Linked DNA regions of Homo sapiens: region 2 is linked to region 1. The links are contacts of gene promoters, found by promoter capture Hi-C in human tissues and cell types (Jung and others, 2019). All regions are on one chromosome and are shown on one strand. Each heading gives the region's core, a stretch centred on a gene start or on the middle of the fragment in contact. The rest is flanking DNA. Distances are from core to core; before and after follow the strand shown. Region 1 holds the start of PSMD3 (proteasome 26S subunit, non-ATPase 3). Region 2 overlaps IKZF3 (IKAROS family zinc finger 3).

Evidence for each region. Contacts are between HindIII fragments. The study calls those that stand out against the background at their distance.
Region 2: a fragment that was not itself captured here is called in contact with the fragment with the promoter of PSMD3 in region 1 in 1 of the 25 tissues and cell types used here (IMR-90 fibroblasts).

What each region holds. Positions count from the first base shown.
Region 1 is chr17:39,978,929-39,984,907 of GRCh38, forward strand. PSMD3 (proteasome 26S subunit, non-ATPase 3) reads left to right here and starts at 1,879. Exons shown (of 12, transcript NM_002809.4): 1 at 1,879-2,262; 2 at 5,366-5,556. The coding sequence starts at 2,043. RefSeq lists enhancers at 1-888, 1,310-1,489, 1,710-1,989, 1,790-2,767 and a silencer at 2,170-2,219. The HindIII fragment of the contact is 7,545 bases long and covers 1-5,979 here.
Region 2 is chr17:39,829,926-39,835,838 of GRCh38, forward strand. It overlaps IKZF3 (IKAROS family zinc finger 3), which reads right to left. Exons shown (of 8, transcript NM_012481.5): 2 at 2,173-2,226. It also overlaps the pseudogene KRT8P34. Among named protein-coding and RNA genes, the nearest start is that of IKZF3, 31 kb to the right of the region's middle. RefSeq lists an enhancer at 5,471-5,913. The HindIII fragment of the contact is 5,404 bases long and covers 918-5,913 here.

The DNA.
Region 1 (5,979 bases), core at 629-3,128:
ACCCCAGAGGGGGAGGTTGCAGTGAGCCAAGATCACGACACTGTACTCCCTAGCCTGGCCAACAGAACGAGATTCCGTTTAAAAAAAAAAAAAAGTTTTATGAGTGGAAGAATTTCTCTAAGGATTTTGGTCCGTGGAGTCAGACTCTCCCCCAGTGTCTTAGTCACCCCCTGCCCAGCCTGGTTCCCTCATCCACCAAGAATTCATGACCAACTGCCAGAAGCTTTGTGTTATGCCGCCAGCCTCCCTGATCCTGAGCACCTTCCAAAGCCTCACTCTATTGCTCATGGATATACTGGGTTGTTATCTGCTGACTTGGTTGTTTTCTCCTTGTGATGTAAACTTAATAGAGAGATGAGCTAACACCCTAACTATCTAGAAGAGTAACTCCTTTGATTGTTAAGGATGAACATAACTCATCTGTTTTCTTCCTTACCATTCTCGCCCACCTTCAGTTGCAGATATGGTGTTATGAAGAGGTTCTAATGAGTTTATTCCAATGATGATTCAAAAGTCCTGTTATCCACCCCCCAGCCCTGGAGGGTGAGAGGACAGTTGAGGAGGAACTGGTCAAGGCATGTTCCCTAAAACTAGAGCACATATCTTTCCAGTTAGCGAGTGGCTGTTTAACGCAAGGAACATCCTGCAATCCTATGAAAGAGGATGCAAAAGATATGCAGGATACCCTTTATATATGCAAAGGAGGAGGTCAAAACATATTTCCTGCCTTCTAGGTCCTTACAACAGGGCTAGATTGTCTTGTAGGGTCCGTGAAAGGTCTAAAACTCAGGACTTCCACTTATGGGAGAGAGAAAAGTTTCAAGGTAGGGAGAGAGTTTTTGTTGTGTGTTCTAAGAAATTGGGAGCTATATCCTTCACCTTGTTTCACCTTCCCTGCAGAACCAGTGGGGCAGTCCTTTGAAAAATAAGTGGGTAGGGTTTCTTGTCCAATTTGCTTCCCCTTAGGTACACCACTAAGTAAACCATCATTCTCTCCTTAGGCACACCATTATTCTGTTCCCCATTTCACAATGTCTGTCTGGATGTATAAAAGCCCTCTCAATGGGCTCCCTAAAGCGTCTGCCAGTAGGGGCTCCCACCCTCTTTCCTCAACACTCCCAATCCACCGCAGCCCAGAGCACAGTGTCTGCTTATCTAACCATCTGACTCCCCCGTATACTACATTCTTGAGCTGTTTTTCACCCCCCTATTTGCTAACCGTGGGCCGTACATAGGGTGGACCCCTATATTTTGTTAAACTGGAGTGATTCTACGCAAATGCACGCTCCTACCTATCGGCACTCCCAGCCTGCAGAAATTGTATGCCTTATGTTCAGCACTAAACTCAAATCTAACCAAGGAAGTCCGGATCCCATAGGGTTCTTCCTACTCTCCAGTTCGGTTTATTTTAAGGCCAACAGCCCTAGCTTCACGTCCCTCCTTCACAGCCTTCTTTCCTTCCCTCCTGCCGGATGCGCCCGGCAGCCGTTGAGCACAAGCCCAGCGGATCTGGAAGGAGACCCCGCCGCGACCGGGGAAAATTGAGCGAACTTGGGCGCAAAACCCGCCCGGCAACTCGTGACGTCATCTCGTCCCGCGCTCGGATAGGCTGTACCCACTCCACGCTGGTTGAGGCGCTCTTAAAGTCCTTTGTAACCCAGATTGGAGCCTGAGGGGACCTCTCGTGGACGCCCACAGAAATGCACTCGAGAGGAACATAAAAGCATCACACTTAAGCGCTCGAAAGAAAGCCCCACGAACCCATAAAGGCTCCTCCCCGCTCCTTCCTCGAAGCTCCTCCTTCATCCTGCACCTCGGCTGTGGATTTATTTCCCCTTTGTTGACTCGGCCATCGGCCTGCCGGGCCTGGCGTTTCCCAGAAGGCCCAGCGCCGGGAAGGGGTTTGCAGCTGCTCCGTCATCGTGCGGCCCGACGCTATCTCGCGCTCGTGTGCAGGCCCGGCTCGGCTCCTGGTCCCCGGTGCGAGGGTTAACGCGAGGCCCCGGCCTCGGTCCCCGGACTAGGCCGTGACCCCGGGTGCCATGAAGCAGGAGGGCTCGGCGCGGCGCCGCGGCGCGGACAAGGCGAAACCGCCGCCCGGCGGAGGAGAACAAGAACCCCCACCGCCGCCGGCCCCCCAGGATGTGGAGATGAAAGAGGAGGCAGCGACGGGTGGCGGGTCGACGGGGGAGGCAGACGGCAAGACGGCGGCGGCAGCGGCTGAGCACTCCCAGCGAGAGCTGGACACAGTCACCTTGGAGGGTACGGCAGCCCAGGCCGGGAACGTGCCGCGATCGCGGGTGACAGCGACCCCTGTGATTTGGCTTCTTGCTGGGAAGCCACAGCAGCCTCCACCACCCTCAGTTCTTTGGGATCACCCCCAGATACCTGCTCCCACTGCCCCGACACTCCCGACTCCAGGCCCAATGACTGAACCTTCTCTCCAGGCTGGGAACCACTCCCCTCCCATCCCCTCCATCCCCATATCTGGGGTTGCATCTATATCTAGGTCCCAGTGGGCCTGGGGACTCCCTCTTTTAAGTCCTCCCCTCTGACCTATTCCGTTTATATCCCACCCGACTGATTTTAGCGCCTCCAATATATGACTGATTGTTCCCGCTGGAAACCAGTGTTTGTGTCTGTGTGTAAACAGGGCCAGGATGACCTAGAATATTGACTCCTGAGTTTTAAAACTGTACAGCAGATTTTTGTTGTCCTAGCTGCCTTTAGCACACTCCCCCGAATGAACCATTTCGACCTAGTATCTTGTTTCCTACTTCTCTAACTGAAGTGTCCCAACAGTCCCCTTGCTGTCTCCTCCCTTCAGGTCCTTACTGCCCCTCTGTTTCTAAAGGGTTTAAGTACATACACACTTAAAACTTTTCGGGTGTCATCTTTGTTTGGTTTTGTAATACTCAACCTTTGGCCTAAACTCCTATATACCGGTGTCTCCTATTTCTTTTCTCCGAGGTTCCTGTTTCGAGTGTCTGTAGTCCTCTTGTTCCTCCAAGTTCATGTTTTACTTTTCCCACTTACAGCGTCCTGTTTCCATTTGAAGTGGGCAAAGTGAGAGCTTCCCACTGTGATCCTGGTGCCATTTTCCTGGTTCTGGATCAAGTGGGACCAGACTACTTACTAGGTTTTCTTTTCACTAAAATGCGTGAGAAACTAGCTCAAAAACATTGAGATAAGCAAAGTTATCCTCCTAGGTGGTGCTTTTGAGGATGTGATGGTGTTGACTACATCAGCTCTTACTGTAAAGTTGAGCAACAGGATCGATATTTAATAGAGATCCTTTTACCTAAAGTAGTGGCAGCAATGTCAAAGGTGCCACTCAGCATTGCCTACTGGGTGTGTTTATTACAGGCACTTCATTTTCTTCTTGTAAAGTAATTCATATTCATTGCAGAAATTGTGGAATGTATGAGAAGTTAAAAGCAGGGGATAAAAAACATGGTTAACATTTTTTCTTGTGAATTTTTGAGCTGTTCTCCTATAATTGAGAGCAAGTTATGTATACAGTTTGTATCAAGGCATAACTAAATATAAATTTTGAATTTTATGTGTTTTCATTAACATTCGTAAACATAATCAGCATTCAATTTATTCCAGAAACATTTATTGAATACCCAATATAATGGTTAAGAGTACAAGTTCTGGAATTAGTTCCCTCATCTGTATAAATACAAGTAATAGTACAGTACTTTATTGGGTTGTTGTGAACATTAAAATGCTTAAAACTGTGCCTAGCACATAAATATCAGCTGTTATTATTTATATCATTAGTGTGGCCCAGATACCCTGTGCTAATCGGTGAATATACAGAAGTGCCTAAGAAACTACTCATTGATTGCATTCCCTTATTGCTTTGCATTTAAACTGTTTCTAGTTTCTTGCTATCATAAATAGCTTTGAAGCAATCATCTTTGTGCCCAACTTAAAAAATCTACTTTTCTAATTATTTCTTCAGTACAGATTCCCACCAAAACCTATATGCCTGAGTTTAAAAGGCTGAACATTTTAAAGGTTTTTGATAGTTATTGTCCAGAAAAACTGTGCTGATTTACATTATACCAGGAGAAATGTAGTTTTCACTGTACTCTATAATTTTTTTTTTTTTTTGAGACGGAGTCTCGCTCTGTTGCCCAGGCTGGAGTGCAATGGCGCGATCTCGGCTCACTGCAACCTCTGCCTCCCAAGTTCAAGCGATTCTCCTGCCTCAGCTTCCCGAGTAGCTGGGATTACGGTCACCCACCACCACGCCCGGCTAATTTTTTTATTTTTAGTAGAGACTGGGTTTCACCATGTTGGCCAGGCTGGTCTCCAACTGCTACCCTTAATGATCCGCCCTCCTCAGCCTCCCAAAGTACTGGGATTACAGGCGTGAGCCACTGTGCCCCACCTATAATTTTTTTAATGTTACAAATTTGGTAGTTTAAAAATGTTTCCATTTGCAATTACTCAAATACTAATGGAATATAATTTTTGTCTGTTAGCTATTTTTCCTCTTTGTATGTTAGTTCGTCTCCATTTTTGTTTTGAAATTGTGGCAATATAATCATTATACCATTATATCTCTTAACCATTTATACAAGCTCTTTATAGAATAAAAATATGAATCTTTGATCACATTTGTTGAAAATATTTTTCTTTTGTATACACAGTTATCTAAAAGGGTTTTTTTAAATGAAGTCAAGCCCATTAATCTTTTGTGCGTATGTGATTTCTCCCATTGTTCACATTTAGAAAGTCTTTTCCATTAAGATCTGATAAATCTGGACTCCAGGTTTCTGTAGTTAATTGGTTTTTCTTTTCTTCCTCTGTCATCCTCTACCCCATCCTGCACCCCCACTGTATGTTTTTCTTGCCACTTGGTTATGTCTTAAAATCAGTGTGTGGAATCTGTAAATATTATGGACCCCATTAGGGCAGAAAAGGTGAGTGGTCGCATTTTGCCCCTCTGTGAGAGGCTCCTTAGAACTCCTTGCCTGGCCGGCACGGTGGCTCACGCCTATAATCCCAGCACTTTGGGAGGCCAAGGCGGGCAGATCACGAGGTCAGGAGATCGAGACCATCCTGGCTAACACGGTGAAACCCCGTCTCTACTAAAAATACAAAAAATTTAGCCAGGCGTGGTGGCGGGTGCCTGTAGTCCCAGCTACTCGGGAGGCTGAGGCAGGAGAATGGTGTGAACCCAGCAGGCAGAGCTTGCAGTGAGCCGAGATCACACCACTGCACTCCGGCCTGGGCGACAGAGTGAGACTCCGTCTCAAAAAAAAAAAAAAAAAAAAAAAGAACTCCTTGCCTGGAGTGGTGGGGGACTAGGAGTGAAAGTGACATCATTTTCTTCTCTGCTCTTCTTCAGACATCAAGGAGCACGTGAAACAGCTAGAGAAAGCGGTTTCAGGCAAGGAGCCGAGATTCGTGCTGCGGGCCCTGCGGATGCTGCCTTCCACATCACGCCGCCTCAACCACTATGTTCTGTATAAGGCTGTGCAGGGCTTCTTCACTTCAAATAATGCCACTCGAGACTTTTTGCTCCCCTTCCTGGAAGAGGTGAGTGAGTCAGGCCAACTTAAAGGGTGCAGGCCTGGCCTCAGATCCCCAGGAACAGCATTGTTTTCCATCCTAAAGTCCCATCTTATTACCTGTGGTAGCATGAGGAGAGAAGCCAAAGCAGTCCATTTGAATACTCATCTGCACAGTGACAAGGGAACCGTCCACTGCCCTGTAGTGTCATTCTTCAAAGTCAGGGGATCAGGACCCTCCCAGCCAAACTCATTTCCCACTACCCTGCAACCTGTACCCCCTACTCCAGTTGAGGTTGCGTTGGGTGACCTCTCTGTTGTTCTAGGAGAGAGAAGGTGCTGCTGCCTCTTTCTTCTGAAGCTTCACCATGGAGGAGGTAGAGAACAGTGGTTAGGAGGAGCACAGCTGTCAGGGCCAGGCACAGTGGCTCACACCTGTCTTCCCAGCACT
Region 2 (5,913 bases), core at 2,370-4,869, 150 kb before region 1:
TGGGTGACAGAGTGAGACTTCGTCTCAAACAAAAAAAAAAGAGAAAAGAAATATGCCCAGGGTTCATGTACCCTCTGAATACACACAACTTTCTTGAATATTTCTTTCATCTGAGTTAAAGGGCACTCATGTTCCTTCTGGAGAAAAACTATCTCTCCATTGGTATATCTCACGATATTCAGTAGGATGCCATTGCTATTTATGACAAAGTAGTGACCAGAAATACTAAGCGTGCAAACACTGGCATAACCTAATTTGGGAAAGATGCTTTCCTAGGAGGAAGATCTGTAAGCTTTCTGTATGCCAAATTCTGTTTTTCCCTTCTGTTCACATTATAAATGTGATTCTGTGGAAAACATATTGGACCCCAAGTTTCTTTATTTGTTTGAACATTTACTGAATGTTGACAAGGCTACAGATATGAATAAGTCATTATGTCTTCAAGGAGCTCATACTTTGAGATATAGATAAGAGAAGCCCACAACTCTAACACATGGTAGGCTCAGACAAAGGATTAAATAAAGGAAATACAAAGTGTTATTAAAGTTCATAAGTGAAAGGGAGCAGACATAATAAAGACATGCTTAAACAAACAGCAAACTTGTTACAAAATAAGTTTAAGAGAAATGTATAATAAATATTGATAATACTAGAAGAAAAAGGAACAATGCAACTGGAATTATTTTCACATATAGGCATAGTAGCTTAACAAAAAGATGATAGCAGAAGAAATGAACTGAAAAGTTACCCTCTTTTTATCTAACTCCTTCCCAATCTTCAATAAAATATTTGCTGAGTTCCCATTAATATAAAAAATAGTCAAAGACACTGAATCCTGTGGCACTGAGGCTGGGCTGAAGTAGGGAGGTAACTAGAAGCTCTGCAGTGGCACTCCTTTCAGCTGAGCCATGACCAAACACACGCGGGAGCGAAAGAGAAACACGTTTCACAAAACCCATCACTAAGAGCCCCTGAAAATGTGGTCACCATGGACTCAGTGTTTGATTTATGAATATCTGAAGTTTCTAATTTCTGCATATTATGATGTATACTCTGTGAACTCTAAGATACCATTCTAAACAATGGTTCACTTTTCTCAAGCCTGAAATGACTAAAATATAGTGGACACCTAAACAATTAATATGAGATTTAGGTTCAGTTAAAAGATGTGATTGGCCGGGTGCGGTGGCTCATGCCTGTAATCCCAGCACTTTGGGAGGCCGAGGCGGGCGGATCACCTGAGGTTGGGAGTTCGAGACCAGCCTGACCAACGTGGTGAAACCCCGCCTCTACTAAAAATACACCAGGCATGGTGGTGCATGCCTGTAATCTCAGCTACTCAGGAGGCTGAGGCAGGAGAATGGCTTGAACCCGGGAGGCTAAGGTTGTGGTGAGCCGAGATCACACCATCGTACTTCAGCCTGGGCAACAAGAGCGAAATTCCGTCTCAAAAAAAAAAGAAAGAAAGAAAGATGTGATTACAAGTTACAGTAACACAAAAAGGCATTTCAGTGATAAATTAAATTTTGTAATATAATGTAAGCTTTGATTCACACAGTGAGTTAATCAATGGAGGACACAGAAGTTATTTTCAGGAAATAAATTATTGTAAATGTTTATAATTTATTCTAGAGCAGGGATCAGTAAACTATGGCCTGAGGTACAAGTCTGACCATAGCCTGCTTCTGTGTGGGCCCAAGAGGTAGGAATGGTTTTTACATTTTTTAAGGGTTGTAAGAAATACAAAAAATAATACGTGACAGAGACCATATGTGGCCTGCAAAGTCTAAATATTTACTATCTGGCCCTTTACAAAAAAGTTTGCAGACCACTGTTCTACAGTAAAAATCGCAAGTCATTCAAATACAAGCTACTATATTATTCAACAAAAACTGTCTTCAGAGCAATGAGCTGAAAAATCAAAAACAAACAAACAAACAAACAAACAGTGATCAACATTAGGTAGTGTATGTTTGGCCCTAAGATGCTAAAGAACTTACATGATCTAAATGGATGAGTTATTTTTTCATCAGCAACAGACAACCATATTTAAAAAAAAACACACACACATTTCCATAGCATTTTTACTGCAACCAGAATAAGCACATTCCTCTCTCTTTGGTATTTTTTTTAGTAAAGGTATATTTCCAGAGAGGAAAGACCTGATGTTACCTGCGGGCACAGACTGCTCCTGAGTGCTTTTCAGTTCCGCATTTGTTTGTATATCTGAAAAGAAAGAGGTTATAAATATTAGCTACTTAGGGTACATTTCTACAGGTTTGAGCATTCCAAATTTAATAAGGGATACCATTTCGGAAAACTTAACAGCAGAATTCCTCTTTCAGAGCAAGATTACTCTTTCTCTATATTCTCCCTAAAAGCCTTTCAAGGAGCATGAAAAAAAAATATTGATGCAGCAATGTTACTCTAAGAACTTTCTGCCAGAGATCTACTTACACCAAGAACAATATGCAAAAAGTGGGTTCCATTAGAAATAATTTCATATATTCTTTATTCTTCCCCAATATTTTATTATGAACACATAGAAAAAAAGAGTTCAAAGTGGTATATATATATATATGTACATATATATGTACATATATATAATGAAATACTATTCAGCAATTAAAAAGAATAAAATCATGTCATTTGCAGCAATATGGATGGAGCTGGAAGTCACTATGTTAAGTGAAATAAGTCAGGCACAGAAAGACAAATATCACATGTTCTCATTCATATATGACAGTAAACACGTTGATCTCATGGAGGTGGAAAGTAGAATGATAGACAGGGTGTGTGGGTGGGAATGGGGGATGAAGAGAGATTAGTTAATGGGTAAAACATATAGTTACATAGAAGGCATAAGCTCTAATGTTTGACAGCAGAGTAGGGTGACTATAGTTAACAACGACGTATTATATATTTCAAAATAGCTAGAAGAGAGGACTTGAATTGTTTCCAACACATAGAAATGATAAATACTCAAGGTGATAAACATTCCAAATTCCCTGACTTGATTATTATATATTCTATGCATGTAACAAAATATCACATGTGCCCCATAAATATGTAAAATATTATGTATCAATAAAAAATTTTAAAAAAAGAACTGCACAGTTGAACATCCATTACTCACCCTCTGGATTCTACAATTAACATTTTGCTATTTTTGCTTTCTCACATATGTTTCCACCCATTCATCTCTCAATCCATTCATCGATCCAGCTTTTTCAACGCATTGCAAAATAAGTTGCAGATATCAGTATACCTCAGTCCTAACATTTCAGCATGATTATTATTAACTAAAATTCAATATCTGTTTACAAGATTTTAAAAAGTAAATTTTACATACAGTGATATGCATGGATCTTAAGTGTACCATTCAATGAGTTTTTAAAAATGCATATCCTCATGTAATGCAAACCCCTATCAAGATACAGAACATTACCATCATCCCAGAAAAGCTCCCTCACATCTCTTCCTAGTCAATTCCCACCCACATACTCCAGAGACAACTACTGTTTTGACTTTTTCCACCATAGATTAGTTTAGCCTATTTTAGAACTTCATAAAAACAGAATCACACAGACATATGGTATAAATTATTTTGCCCGAGGCTTCTTTCACTCAACATAATGTTTTGAGATACATCCATTCTGTGGTGTTTATCAGTAGTTCATTCTTTTTTATTGCTAAGTAGTATTCCATATGAATATCCCAGTTTGTTTATCCATTCTCCTATTGATGGACACCTAGACTGTTTCCAGTTTGGGCTATTTATAAGTCAAACTACTATGATATTCCTTTTTAAAATAATAAACTTTTAAATTTTAGAGTAGTTTTAAATTTATGGAAAAATTGCAAAGATAGCACAGAGAGTTCCCATATACCCCACACCCAATTTCCCCTATTATTAACATCTTATATTAGTATGGTACATCAGTTATAATTAATGAATATATATTCATACATTATTACTATCTAAGTATTCAGATTTCCTTAGTTTTCATCTAATGTCCTTTTTCTGTTGCAGGATCCCTTCCAGGATCCCACATTACATTTAGTCATCTTGTCTCCTTAGGCTCCTCTTGGTTGGGACAGTTTCTCAGACTTTCCTTGTTTTGATGATCTTGACAGTTTTGAGTACTGGTCAGGTATTTTGTAGAATGTCCCTCAACTGGGATGTGTTTGTTTTTCTCATGATTAGACTGGAGCATGATCATCCTTGCACAAGTATTTCTGTGGTCATATGCTTTCATGTCTCTTGAGTCAATACCTAGGTGTGGAATTACTGGGTTATAGGGTAGGAGGCATATATCTAGTTTCAACACAGTGAAACTAGAACTTGTTCAAAAGTGCTTCTTCCCTCTACTTTGGGCTTAACTTACTCTGCTTCTGCCCTCTTAAGGTGAAATTTTAGTGACTGACTTTATTCCTTTCTTCTTTTCTAATTGTAAACATTTAAAGCTATAAGTTTTCCTGTAAGCATTGCTTTAGCTGCATCTCATAAATGCTGATGTTTTGATTATAATTCAGTTCTAATTTCCCTCGAGTCTTCTGTGATCCACTGGTTATTTATAAGTGTTTAATTTCCAGATATTTGGGGGAATTCGGGAATTCTTTAGCTAACTTGTTATTGAAGTCAAATTCCATTGCACTACAGTCAGAGAACACAGTCTGTGTGACTGTAGTCCTTTTAAAAGTATTAAGACTGGTGTTCTTGGTGAATGTGCCATGTGTAGTTGAGACATATGTATGTTCTGGTTTTTGTTGGTTTTCTTTGTTTGTTTTGTTTTGCTTTGCAGATCTGGCTGAGGCTTTATTTTGGAGGAAAAAAAAATGATGTAATTGTTTTGTAGCTGGAGGCATGGGCAAGGGGGGTATCCCAGGCAGTAAACTCCCCATGGGTGGGCTGAGGGTTAGGGCTGAGCCTCAGGTGGGTCTCCTGTTCCCTATACTCCCCTGCACAGTGGCCTCCTCCACAGGCTCTGGAGAAGCCATGGGAGGGGGTAGGCTGGGAGGGGCTGCTATGGCCTTTCACCTGGGCAGGACATCAGAGGACTGGGACACCAGCTTCCCATCGTGGTCTTGATCTTCTTCACAACCACAGCCCTAGAGAAGCAGGCACAGCCAAAGGAGCTGGAGCCCCCGCCAGAGCCAAAGCTGGATCCCAAGCCATAGCTGAGGCCAGGGCTTGTAAGGCCCCTGTAGGCTGAGCTCAGCCCACCTGAGTAGCCCCTGGTGGTCTTCATATGGATACTCATGCTCTGCATCCCAGACTTCAGCTGGCTCTCCTTGCCCTCCAGCAACTTCCTGTAGGTGGCGATCTCAATGTCCAGGGCCAGCTTGATGGTCATCAGCTCCTGGTACTTGAGCAGCTGACGCGCCACGTCCTGCTTGGCCCACTGTAGGGCGGCCTCCAGCTTGGACCCCCTGGCATTGGCATCCTTAATGGACCGCTCCCCACACATACACAATGGCGGCCTCCAGGGAAGCCCTCTGGCCTTTGAGGCCCTCTGTCTCAGACTGGAGCCGGCTGATGTTCCAGTTTATCTTGGAGATCTCCGTCTTTGTACAACGCAGGTCATCCTGTGCTTCCCAGGCAGGGTCTGCAGCTCCTCATACTTGATCTGGTGCATGCTGTCAGCCTTGGCCTGGCTGCGGTTGGCGATCTTCTCATACTGGGCCTCGACCTCAGCAATGATGCCGTCCGTGTCCAGGGAGCAGCTGTTATGCGTGGACAGCCCCACAGATGTGTCCAAGATCTGGGACTGGAGCTCCCAGATCTCCTCTTCATACAGCTGCCTGAGGAAGCTGATCTTGTAAGCTTGCCATCCAGGTAAGACTCCATCCAGCTCCACCCTATTCATGTATGCCTCATCCACATCCTTCTTGATGAGGACAATTTTATTC